3 separate regions of the Homo sapiens genome follow, and all the other regions are linked to region 1. Evidence: promoter capture Hi-C in human tissues and cell types (Jung and others, 2019). All regions are on one chromosome and are shown on one strand. The core of a region is centred on a gene start or on the middle of the fragment in contact, and the rest is flanking DNA. Distances in the headings are between cores, read along the strand shown. Region 1 holds the start of DNMT3L (DNA methyltransferase 3 like). Region 2 has its middle 38 kb from the start of LINC01678. Region 3 has its middle 23 kb from the start of ICOSLG.

Region 1 (4,261 bases), core at 468-2,967:
TTCATTGTCGCAGTGCCTCAGGGTCCCCCCGCCCCCTGCCCCGCTGTTTTTCAGACTCTCCCGCTGGGCGGCCTGACTGCCCCAGTGAGGAGGGCTCAGGCACTGGGCCGCCTCTGCTCCGACCCAGTTCACTCCTGGAGAGGCTGGGCTGTGGGTGGGGGGAGAAAGCCCCGGTGCGGGGCACCCACCCAGGCGAATCCTCCCCGAGACGCTGGCCTGGGCCAGGGGCCAAGGGGTCATCAGGCTGCCCCTGTGTGGTCACCCCTCATGCAGTACTTGCAGAAGGAAGTCACCAGGCCCAGCCCACACTTCAGGGGGGTTACCTCCCGCAAGGGTCTTCTCCCACTTTCGACCAGCACAATTGTCCTGTGGCTCCAGCCCTGCCCGGCGGTCCTCCGCCCCCTGCTCTGAAGCCCCTAACCTCCCTCCAACAAAGTCCCCCTTCCCAACCCACCCCGCACCTCCCACACTGCCCCTCTGCCCACCCCACCTTCCTGCTCCCTTCCCTGCTTCCACGTTCCACCCCCACCCTGAACCTACCCCTCCCAGCTCCCCAACCCCCCACCTGCCCTGACATTCCCCACCCAACACCCCTTACCCCATCCTCCAGGGCCTTCCCTGTTTCCTTCTCTCCCCCACAGCTGCCCCCCAAACCTGGGGCTCCAGACTGAGCTCCCAAGCCCGGCTCCTGAACGCCCCTCCCTCTATCCCGCCAGAGGACCACCTCCCCTGAACACCCCCATCTCCTCCTCACCATCTACCCCCACCCCCACTCCCATCCCAACCGACCCTGAGATCCCTGAGGCCCATCCCCACCCCATTCTCACCCCTATCCTGCCCTAAAGGCCACCTCCCCTGAAACCCCCATCCTCGGCCTCACACCCCCATTCCTACTTTCACCCCGTCTCTACCCTTGCCCTGAGCCCCGACCCCCGCCACTGAGCCCTGCCCCGGAGTGCCCACCCTCACCCTATCATCACCCCCATCCCGCCAAAGGACCACCTCCCCTGAAGGCCCCCATCTCCAACTCAGCATCCACCCCCACCCCCACTCCCTAATCCCCCAACAGATCTCCCTAAGCCCCGCCCTCCACCCACCCACCCTGCCCTGAGGGCCACCTCCACTAATCCTCACCCATCTCCACCCAGGGGGCCAACTCCACCTAACCCCCCGCCCTGCCCTACCTCCACCCTCCACCCTCCACCCTCCACCCCTCCACCCCTCCACCCTCCACCCTCATCCCTTTCTTCACCCTTGCCCTGAAGCCCACCCCTATGACCTTCCTAAACCCCACCTCTGAGCGCCCTGCCCCTACCCCACAGCCACCCCTATCCCCCACCCCACCCCAAGGGCCCCCCTCTACTGAAACCCCCCTCATCTGCCCCATCCCCAGTCCTCCCATCTCCACCCCTCCCCTGAACCCCACTCCCCACTGAGGTCCCCAAACCCCACCCCTCACTCCACCCTGAGGGCCCCATCCTCTGAACCCCAATCCCCCAGCCCCACTGAGCTCTTAACCCTCCCCACCTGAGGGTTCCCTTTCCCTGCCCGTCCCCCAGCTTCCTAGCTCCCCACCCCAAGTGACCCCCCGCAGCTCCTCGCCCCTCCCACTGCAAACCGGCACTGAAGGGCTGCCCCGCCCCCGCCCCTCCCCGCCCCCGCGGGACACGCCCAGATTCTTTGCCCCCATAGCCTGGTGACCTCTGGCCACCCGCTGTCCCAGGTGGGCCTGGATCCTTCCAGCTCATTCTTTGCCTGCGCCGTCCCTCGTTCCATGGCCCAGTCCTCCCCGGGGACCCTGAGCCTGGAAGCCCCGGACCACTGGAACCTTGAACCCACCAGCTGGCTGTACCCGGAGCCGTGGCAGCAGCCCTGTGAGTCTCTTTCCTACTCCCTGACCATGCTGCCTTCAAGGGTGCGGCTGGCCAAGACCATCCCCAGGGGTCCCTGCTGGGCCTGAGGGACACTGTAGGAGGCTGGGGCATGGGAGTCCCTGAGGGGTCGAAGGCTGGGCCCAGAGGAAAGCAGGGGCTGCAGCGGCCATTGGCCCCAGGTCCTCATGAGGGCCCTGCCCTCCCCTTTTTGCCCCATCTTCCATGTTGTAACAGGGCCAGGCAGGTGGGGGGCACGCCTCAGGGGACCCTTGAGCCCCTCTCAGGGCTGGCACTGGCCTTGGCTGTCCTGCCCCTCATCCCTGGGTTGGGCAGGTGGGTGTCACCGCGGGGGTTCAGGTGGCCTGAACTAGTCAAGGTCTGCTCAGCAAGCTGCTTCCCGTGCTGGGGTGCATCAGGGATCTGAGCAGGGGCTGACGGCTTTCTCACATCTGTGTCCGTGTGTCCTGACACAGCATCCCCATGGCGGCCATCCCAGCCCTGGACCCAGAGGCCGAGCCCAGCATGGACGTGATTTTGGTGGGATCCAGTGAGCTCTCAAGCTCCGTTTCACCCGGGACAGGCAGAGGTGAGGGCTCATCTGCTTATTGGACCAGTCACTTAGGATGCTGATCCCAGGCCTGGATGAGGTCTGGAGTTCCAGGCTTCTGGAGTATTCATGCATTATTCAGGCACCCGGGCTGGGGCAGGAGGTTCCCCACCCACAGTCTTCCCCCAGGTATGGGCGTTTAACACACCAAGATAAGGTGTGAGGGCGGGATGGCAGGGGACCTCAGGCTCCTGTGACTTTGGAAAACGAATTGTGATGCTCACTTCCTGGCCGAATTTAAATTAAGAGATCAGAGGAAGAAGAAAGGGGCTACTTCTTATCTTCCTTTCCAGATCTTATTGCATATGAAGTCAAGGCTAACCAGCGAAATATAGAAGGTGAGTGTTTGCATACTGGCCCACACCAGACAAAAGAGACGGGGCACAGTGGCTCACACCTATAATCCCAGCACTTTGGGAGACCAATGTGGGAGGATCATTTGAGCCCAGGAGTTTGAGACCAGCCTAGGCAACATAGTGAGACTCTGTCTCTACAAAAAAATAAAAATAAAAATTAACCAGGCATGGTGGCATGCACCTGTAGTCCCAGCTACTCAGGAGGCTGAGTTGGGAGGATTGCTTGAGCTGGGGAGGTCGAGGCTGCAGTGAGCTATGATAACACCACTGCACTCCAGCCTGGGTGACGGTGAGATCCTGGAAGGAGGCAGTGGACACCACTGTGCCACGTGTATCCCTTCTCCCCCTCCCAAGGCCCCTGTAGCTTCATTTAAAGCATATAGTTTAATGTATTTTAGTTTATTTACAGAGTCAGCAACCATCATCACCATCTAATTTTAGAAGGTTTTCATCACCCTGAAAAGAAAACCCATGTCTAGTAACAGTCACTCCAAATTCCCCCTTCTTGCTTCCCTTCTTTTAACTCTAGGCAACCACTCCTCGACTTTCTCTCAACGTGGGTTTGCCTTTTCTGGATCCTTTGCATTTCCGTATGAATTTAGGATCAGCCTGTCAACTCCTGCCCAAAAGCCAGCTGGGATTTTGAGAGGGCTCTGCAGCTCCATTTGGGGACTCATGCTATTTTAACAATATTAAGTCTTCTTCTTTTTTTTTTTTTTTTTTTTTTTGAGACACACTCTCACTCTGTCCCCCAGGCTGGAGTGCAGAGGCATGATCTTGGCTCATAGCAACCTCTGTCTACCAGGTTCAAGTGATTCTCCTGCTCAGCCTCCTAAAGTGCTGGAATTACAGGCATGAGCCACCACACCCAGCCAATGTTAAATCTTCTGATCCATGAACATGGGATATCTTTCCATTTTGTTCCATCTTCCTTAACATCTTCCAACAATACTTTGCAGTTTTCAGTGTATAAGTCTCATATTTGTTTGGCTAAATTTATTCCTAATCGTCTGCTGTATTTGACAGCACTGGGAAAACACAGTGTGCTTTGAATGTTTCCTTTAGACATCTGCATCTGCTGCGGAAGTCTCCAGGTTCACACACAGCACCCTCTGTTTGAGGGAGGGATCTGCGCCCCATGTAAGGTAGGCAGGGAGGCTGGGGGTGACTCCCTCATGGCCTCAGAGCAGGGATGACACAAGCCAGCCTTGCTTTGCTCCTTCCAAGGACAAGTTCCTGGATGCCCTCTTCCTGTACGACGATGACGGGTACCAATCCTACTGCTCCATCTGCTGCTCCGGAGAGACGCTGCTCATCTGCGGAAACCCTGATTGCACCCGGTGAGGCGAGGGGCCTGCCCAGGGGGGTGAAGGGGCTGAGGACACACCCATCCTTTCAGCTACTCATTCTGGAGTGTGGGTGGA
Region 2 (4,261 bases), core at 568-3,067, 63 kb after region 1:
CTTTCAAAGAAAGACCTTGGTAAAAAGGGGACAATGAGAAAGTTATCAGAATTAAAATGGAGTCACTTCTGTTAAAAAAAAAAAAAAAAGCCTCTGACAAATAGGCTGGGCGCAGTGGCTCACGCCTGTAATACCAGCGCTTTGGGAGGCCGAGGTGGGTGGATCATGAGGTCAGGAGTTTGAGACCAGCCTGGCCAATATGGTGAAACACCGTATCTACTAAAAATACAAAAATTAGCCGGGCATGGTGGCACCTGTAGTCCTGGCTACTCGGGCGGCTGGGGCAGAAGAGTCCCTTGAATCTGGGAGGCAGAGGATGCAATGAGCTGAGATCATGCCACTGCACTCCAGCCCGGGCGACATATACTCTGACAAATAGCGCTGGGGGAGGCCATAAAGGGAGGGTTCTCCTGCATGAATTACTGATAGCAAGAGCTATTGATACGGCTCCAATGACTGGAGGAACATCACGGTCCTTGGTCCTCCGCCGATTTAGATAAAACGACATGGACACATGTGGAGTGGTTTTAAGGAGCAGAAAGTTTAATAGGCAAGGAAGAAGGAATAAAGAATAAAACAGCTCCCCTATACAGAGACGCAGTGGGGCTCAGAGCAAAGAGGCCCCGCATGCCGCAGAAGGGCATTCCACGATAGCGGGAGGCTGGAGGAGGCGGTGTCTGGTTTGCATAGGGGGCAGGGAATTGGTTTGACCGGGTGTATCATTCACGTAGTCCATGAGAAACCTGGCCCTCCCACCTTAGTCCTTTAATATGCAAATGTGGGTTGCCATGACGTTTTGAACACATGGTGTTATGTGGGGGCGGCCATGACACCTGGCACACCTGTCGACAAGAAGATGTGGGAATCGCCATGTTGGGTAGACCCAGTGTCTATTTGCCGGCGTTTGCATATCAAAGCTTGCTGGTCTGGCTCTTTAAGCCGCCTTTCTGTTAGTTTCCACCTAGAACCTTTACCCTATCCAGCTGCCTAAAAATTATTTCTTTTTTTTCTTTTTTTTAAAGACACAGTCTCACTCTTGTCCCCCAGGCTGGAGTGCAATGGCGTGATCTTGACTCACTGCAACCTCCGCCTCCCGGGTTCAAGCGATTCTCCTGCCTCAGCTTCCGGAGTAGCTGGGATTACAGGCACCCGCCACCACGCCCGGCTAATTTTTGTATTTTTAGTAGAGATGGGGTTTCACCATGTTGGCCAGGCTGGTCTCGAACTCCTGATCTCAGGTGATCTGCCTGCCTTGGCCTCCCAAAGTGCTGGGATTACAGGCGTGCGCCACCGCACCCGGCATAAAAATTATTTCTTAATAACTCTTGTATTACTATCACAAAATACTGAGAAACCACAACGCTGTATGAAGTCCACTGCAACCATGGACAGAAAATACTGTGAGGACATCTGCCCAGCAACTGCGGTCCAACCCTGGACTGGCACCCCCCGCCGCTGATGCTTGTAGACAAGGGGAATCGCCTCAAAACAACGGTGTGATCCTCGTTTTCCCTTTAAAAGCCTTTTTCTCCCTTTACCTCCCTGAACACACACAGTCTACCACCGCACGTGTGTTCCGACTGCAACGCCCTATTTTTGAATAAATGTCGTTTTCTTTCACAGAGCCTCTCTGTTATCTAAGTTGACAAATGTAATCATAGCACAACAGTGGTCTCTGTTGTAATCCATATTTATTCAATTTCAACGGCATACACACTGTGGAGTAAAAGCCATGACAAGGAGGCAGGGCGTGGGGCTCATGCCTGTAATCGCAGCACTTTGGGAGGCCAAGGTGGGTGGATCACTTGAGGACAGGAGTTCGAGACCAGCCTGGCCAACATGGTGAAACCCCGTCTCTACCAAAAATACAAAAATTAGCTGGGCATGGTGGCGCGCATCTGTAATCCCAGCTACATAGGAGGCTGAGGCAAGGGAATTGCTTGAAGCCAGGAAGCAGAGGGCGCGGCGAGGCTGAGACTGTGCCATTGCACTCCAGCATGGGCGACAGAGTGAGACTCCATTTCCAAAAGAAAAATCATGGCCGGGCATGGTGGCTCACACCTGTAATCCCAGCACTTTGGGAGGCTGAGGCAGGCGGATCACGAGGTCAGGAGATCGAGACTATCCTGGCTAACAGGGTGAAACCCCATCTCTACTAAAAATATGAAAAAATTAGCCGGGCATGGTGGCGGGCGCCTGTAGTCCCAGCTACTCGGGAGGCTGAGGCGGGAGAATGGTGTGAACCCGGGAGGCGGAGCTTGCAGTGAGCCGAGGTTGTGCCACTGCACTCCAGCCTGGGCGACAGAGCGAGACTCCGTCTCAAAAAAAAAAAAAAAAGAAAAAAGAAAAAAGAAAAATCATGACATTGAGAGGATTGGGGGAGGAAATGTGGTTGTAAAAGGGTTAAAATGTAACCATTTGTCGCAGGAAGCCAACGCATAAAGTCTAAAATGATAAACCAAGAAGCTGAGCGTGGACCCATTTTCCGTTCTGCTGCAGTGCTCCCTCCCCTCCCCGAGTCCTCGGTGGGCTGGCAGACGGGGCTCTGCCGTGGCCGACTCTTGGGGTCCCTGCAGTAAATCCAAGCGCCTCCAAGGACATCCGAGTGACCAGGGACTGGTGAGTTTTCTTTGAGTTGTAGGGCTGTGGCGGGCTGCCTAGAGGCCCCCGACATGGGCTCATTCTCCCTCCTTCTTCTCCGCCAAGAGAAGAGCCGTGATCCCCAGGAGGAATCCTGTGTGGAGTGTCTGTCTGGAGTTGGATCAGACAGTGATCCAGGGATTTCTTCTTCTTTGAACAGTGATGGCCCAAGGCCAATCCTTTCCTACAGAATCAGCCTTCCCAGTGTTGCCACGGTGGACGGCCTGAATTTATCATACGTGGCTCTTGCTGGTGACATTGCCACGTGTGGGAACTACTGTACATCAGATGCCTGCCCCAGCAGCCTGGCCGGTCTCAGAGCGAGACATGCTGCTCACCAGCCCTCCCGGTACCTCAGGGGCCAGAAGTGGACAATCGGCCCTGCGCCTGGACCGGCCATCCCTGGGCGGCAGGCCAGGACCTCCTCCACCAGGCCCGCATGCCGCTGGGACCATACATGAAGGGAAGGTCCCAGGAGGTGACGCTGTCGGAGCCGATGGCCTTGAGACTGGTGCCGGGCTGCAGAGAGAAACGCGTCCTCGGCAGACCTCGTCAGCGCTGACACAGACGCTTCATCATGGGAGCCTCGGCCACAGCTGTGCCCTAGGTGGTGATTATGAGAAGACCAATTCTAGGAAATTTGAGGAAGGAACAGCAAGTTCTCTTGATTAAACTATGAATGAATTTTAAAAGTCTGTAATCGGACAGTTTTCTTCCTTGGACGTTTCTGTGACTCTGGGAGCTGACTATATGGCTTCAAACCAACCCTGAGCCTCTACCCCAGGACAGAACGCAGGGCTCCCGGGTGAGTGCACCGAGCTGAAGGACCTGAGAGCGGTCCATTGCCAGGTGGCTCCATTAGGGGCATCTCACCTGAGGCTGCCTCCAGGGTAAGGCTCGGCCTCAGGGATGGAGAGTGGTGCTCACACTGGGGGCCCTGGATTCTATGGGCAGCAAAGCCGTGTGTGCTACATGAACAGGCCCAGCCAAGAGGTCCCCACCCACTCTGCATGACCGGGATCAGCTCATCGGTGCTTCAGGGCAGGATGACCCCACCTGCTCCCTGACAGACAGGTCTGGCCGTGGGTGATAAACCTGTGTAGGCTTCCAAGGCCTCAGCAGTGCATGTGTCTTGCTCCTGGAGGGGCCAGAGGAACAGGTGCTCTGTGTCCCTACCAGTAGGATGAGGACCGTCTCGGACAAACGTCCCTCAAGGCCTGTGTCCTCCCACCAGGAAGCCACAGACAAGGCTGAAGCTGGGCCTCCCACAGCCAAAGAGGAGCTGTCCTGGGACTGAAAAGAGGAAGCAAGCCCAGATCTCCACACCTCCCGCCCCGACTCTGGCGTCACTGAGGTGCCTGCCCCCGTGTCACGGCTGTGGCTGTTGTGCTGATGCAATCTCAACAGCAGAGAAGCACGCACATCCTGCAGGCCCACGTGGGCCCCCGACCTGGCAGATGGGGCCCTGGGAGACCAGCCCAGAGTGCCACTAGTGCCCTCCAGCCAGGCTCCAGCCACCCATCTCTTAGAACAGGGCCCTGCTCTCAGCACCAGGGGCATCTTTGTCCTGGGGCCATCCTGTGTGGTTAGGGTATTGAGCCGCACCCCGGCCTCCACCCTC
Region 3 (4,261 bases), core at 748-3,247, 44 kb after region 1:
CGGCCACAGGGACAACCACAGTAAAGCCAGCCTGCCAGCAGAAAAGTAACAGACTGAGCTAAAATCACCTCTGGAACTTCCTGTCTACCTGGACACCTGTCTACAGGGCCTGAGAGAGGAACTGACACTTTCTCCTCCAGCAGAGCCATGTCAGGAAGGAGCCTCTCCGGCAAAGGCTGCCCAGGCCCACCCGGACTCCACTCAGAGCCTGAGCCCTTGGTTCCCGTGAAGCTCTGAGGGCAGGTTGGCAGCCACAACACTGGGCCAGGACCCAAGATGGGGCAGGCCAGGCCCTCCACCAAGGGCCCAGACCCTCTATGCAAATGCAGGCCATGCCTGTGTGCAGCCAGGGGCCCCTGGGAGAATGCAGTGAGGAAGGGCAGGTGGATGTGCTTGGACTGAGACAGAAAGCTCCAGGGTGACGCTTGCCATGAGCGTGGGCACGACCCTCCTCCTCTTCCTCCTCCTCCTCCTCCTCTTCCTCCTCCTCCTCCTCTTCCTCCTCCTCCTCTTTCTTTTCCTTCTCTTCCAGGCACTTCCCCTGCAGCTGCAGTGGGAGGTGTTTCCAGATGCTGGAATGTGCTCCTGGGGCAGCAGCTCCCTGCCTGCTGGAGTCTCCTGGGCTCCTCTGCTGGGCTGTGCACACAGCACTGATCTTAGGGCACAGCCGGTGGGGAGGCCACACAGGGGAATCCTCCTGTGGCACTGGGGATAAAGGTCCTGTCTTCCAGCCGGGGGCAACTCCATCCAGTGTGGCCTAAGGCAAAACTTGGAATCCATGTTGACTGATTTTTGAGATGGTGTTTTGCGAACAGTAAAGGGATAGGCAAAGTTCTTGTTGTAAGCCACTCAGGCACCCTCCTGACAGAAGCCTGGGGATTCCGGAGGTAAAAGCTGTAAGGTTGGGAGTGGACCCTGGAGCCCACTCCCCCGACCCCCGACCCTCAATGAGGTTCTTTAGAAGACTGTGCCCTGGGGCTGCCCACACAGCCAGGCACTCTAGGGCCTGGGAAGACACTGCTCTCCCGTGCATGTCGGGGACACAGGCTTTCGTCCTCAGCAGTTGTGCAGGTCAGGTGGGGACTCAGGGAAGGCAGCCGGGCTGGGTGAGAGCTTAGACAGAGACAATGACCAGCCACAAGATGCAGTTAAACAAATACACAAACCTGCTTTCCAATGGTTTACAATGGATTCTGAACAGCCCGGGGCCCCAGAACAGCTAGATTCCTCACTCCTCTCCATTCTCAGGCCAACCTGTGGTCTCATTTTATAAAAAAGAGATTGGGCTGGTTTACTCAGCCAAGAAACATCGAAGAGATGGTACCTAAAACCAAGGGCTTTGGATCATCTGTCTGGCCCAGGGCGTCCCACCTCCCTGCCTCTGACAGGACTTCCCACCTCCCCGCCTCTGACTTCAGTTGGGAAGAGGATGGTGGCGGGAGATGGAGGATGAGGCCCTCCTCATCTGCTTGGCCAAGGCTGTTCTGCTCTGCGGTTTGTGGGTTTGACACTCGTGGCCTTGAAAGCAAGCCTCCCGGCCCAGCCTCCATCTTCCTGACAGTAGTGCTGCCTGTGAGTATTTGCATGGCACGGCAAAGTCACAGCTCAGCAGACACTCCTGATAACACTCTTAACAACACCATGCACAGGGGAGGGTGAGCACACTGCCCTTCTGGAGACCAGGAAACTCCCCGAAGCCTCAGGGTGATTGACCTGCCCCTGCCACGCCCCTAATAGCTCCATCTTCTCACTCCACCTTCCTGCCTCTTTCTGAGTCGTGGTTCCAGGTGCCTGCCTGCCCTGGGTGAGTGAAGCCACCAGTACACACCCAGTCACATTAGAACTGCCCAGTTCCATCCCAGGCCAGTGTAAACCAAAAATAAAACCCGAAGTCCCCAGCCAACTGAAGTGACCCCCGCTTGGCCATGTCCACCCCAGAGAAGCCTGAAAAACCTCCTCCTGGGTGGTCGCACAGGCCTCGTTATGTCACCGAGCAGCTCAGCTTCGAACTGTGTTTTAACACGGCCTTTCTTTCCTCCTTTCTCCCCAGTCTCAAGACATGGCTTTGAGCAAACTACAGATGTGCTTCCTTTCATCTTGAAATCCAGCCTGGGAGCAAGCTGTGAGCCTACTGCCTTCCCTCTCCCACCTGCAGCTCCCGGGCCCTGTGCACATTTGTTTATCTGGATGCTTGCTGAGTGCACACCATGCTCACCTGTCTGGTCATCTATTTCCTAGAAGCTTTGGGGGCCAGATCCTGGGACGAACCAGGCATCTCCAGAATTCCTTCCCCAGCAGGCGGGTTACTTTGAGGCCAGAGCTTACTCCTGGCTAAAGACTCACTGCAAGATTGACTGTGATTGATTTCTAATCTGGGGGCGACCCGCGATGGCGCAGCCCCTTCACCAGATGTGTTTGTGGTGGAAGTTATCCAAGTGACACGGCACCAAAACCTGTGATCGGTGGCAAATCCGTACAGGTCTGCGGCAGCCGCAATTCTCACCTCCTCAGAAGAAAGAATTCGACCAAGGGGCAGAAGGCAGAAGAAGAGACCGAGACAAGTTTTAGAGCAGGAGTGACATTTATTAAAAAGCTTTAGAGCAGGAATGAAAGGAAGGAAAGGACGCTTGGAAGGGGGCCAAGCAGGTGACTTGAAGGACAGGTGTGTGGTTTGACCTTCGACTTGGGGTTTTATATGTTGGCACGCTTCCGGGGTCTGGCCTGCCTTCTCCCCTGATTCTTCCCTTGGGGTGGGCTGTCCACATGTGCAGTGGCTGCCAGCCCTTGGGAGGAGCACGCGCTATGTGTTTACTGGAGTTGCGCGCCTGCTTACCTGAGGCGTTGTTCCCTTACCTGTCAAATGTCCCTAGGAGGCCATAGACCAGTTACACTCCACAATTTTGCCTTTTAATACACATGCTTGAGCCCACTCACCCAATGCCTGAGGTCTTATGGGGAAGGATTTTTCTGTCTGTTGGGAGGCTGCCTTTCCCTGGCGTTGGCTGTGACCAATTATTATTTTAGAGAGACAGTTAACAGCCACCCGACCAACACTGATGGTCGCCTGACATTCCTGGTTGGGAGGGCCCTCTCCTGCCCTGCTCATGTCTGACCAGCTGCCTACTGTAACAGATGGAACAATAACTCAAGAGAAGCCATCAGAGCAGGTCACCTGGCACCTCCTGGCCCCTGCCTCGCCTGCATTCCAGACCCCCTCTACACGTCCCTCTACAAATTGAAGAGTGGCCATTTTTGGAAAGGATTCCGGCCAATCTCCCCCTTGCTAGCATGAGAATGAAGCTCACGCTCTTTCTTTTTTCTTTCTTTTCTTTTTTTTTTTGAGACGGAGTCTCGCTCTGTCACCCCGGCTGGAGTGTAGTGGCGTGATCTCGGCTCACTGCAAGCTCCGCCTCCCGGGTTCACACCATTCTTCTGCCTCAGCCTCCTGAGTAGCTGGGACTACAGGCGCCCGCCACCGCGCCCGGCTAATTTTTTGTATTTTTAGTAGAGACGGGGTTTCACCGTGTTAGCCAGGATGGTGTCGATCTCCTGACATCGTGATCTGCCCGCCTCGGCCTCCCAAAGTGCTGGGATTACAGGTGTGAGCCACCGCGCCCGGCAGCTCACTCTCTTTCTATCACGCCCCACTCTTGTCATCGTGGCTTCTTTTTAAGCGGTGAGCAGCCAGACCTTTGCTGGTTACAGCCACAACCCTCCCTTTCAGAGTTGAGGCACAGCTGGCCAGTCCTGACATTAAAATCAGGATCCTAAGACGGATGGAACACACTCTATGTGGCAATAAGACACCAAATTCCAGCCTGACTCTGGTATAGCATCACGTGACGGATAGCAGACTCTGAAGGAAATGAGAATATTTTGCCTTAAAATATATTTCTTTGACATATTTTGAAAGGGTCCCACAGAACCATCCTTTCTCAGAGAAACTAGCACCCATAGAGAATCTCCACGAATGCAGCCAGGACTTCCTCTTCTAGTACTTTCCAGACCTAGGAGAGATTAACTGAGGGCCTGACACCTTTAAGGTCTGAAAAGGGACATTTGCCATCTATTCTCTCTGAGGGCTGCAATCTACAAGGCTTCATCTGCAAACCAAGGGCCTCGGCCCCCACACCCCTCATCTTAATTCCAGCCTTCCTTCCAGCTGACTTCACCTCTGTAGACAAAGCTTCACGCTTTCAATCAACCGTCAACTAAAGAATCGCAGAACCAGCCGGTGCAGTGGCTGATGCCTGTAATCCTA

Evidence for each region. The method cuts DNA at HindIII sites, captures the fragments that hold promoters and counts their contacts. A contact is called where the count stands out against the background at its distance.
Region 2: a fragment that was not itself captured here is called in contact with the fragment with the promoter of DNMT3L in region 1 in 3 of the 25 tissues and cell types used here (dorsolateral prefrontal cortex, hippocampus and mesenchymal stem cells).
Region 3: a contact is called between a fragment that was not itself captured here and the fragment with the promoter of DNMT3L in region 1, in 6 of the 25 tissues and cell types used here (H1 embryonic stem cells, IMR-90 fibroblasts, dorsolateral prefrontal cortex and 3 more).

The regions. Positions count from the first base shown.
Region 1 is chr21:44,259,353-44,263,613 of GRCh38, reverse strand. It overlaps DNMT3L (DNA methyltransferase 3 like), which reads left to right and starts at 1,717. Exons shown (of 12, transcript NM_175867.3): 1 at 1,717-1,874; 2 at 2,348-2,460; 3 at 2,775-2,819; 4 at 3,903-3,982; 5 at 4,065-4,177. The coding sequence starts at 2,355. RefSeq lists an enhancer at 1,443-2,002. The HindIII fragment of the contact is 12,940 bases long and covers 1-4,261 here.
Region 2 is chr21:44,196,153-44,200,413 of GRCh38, reverse strand. No RefSeq gene overlaps it. Among named protein-coding and RNA genes, the nearest start is that of LINC01678, 38 kb to the right of the region's middle. RefSeq lists a silencer at 3,173-3,351, an enhancer at 3,916-4,105 and cis regulatory regions at 3,728-4,228, 3,730-4,230, 3,731-4,231. The HindIII fragment of the contact is 3,712 bases long and covers 1-3,673 here.
Region 3 is chr21:44,216,034-44,220,294 of GRCh38, reverse strand. It overlaps a transcript of ICOSLG not described here. Among named protein-coding and RNA genes, the nearest start is that of ICOSLG, 23 kb to the left of the region's middle. The HindIII fragment of the contact is 6,285 bases long and covers 1-4,261 here.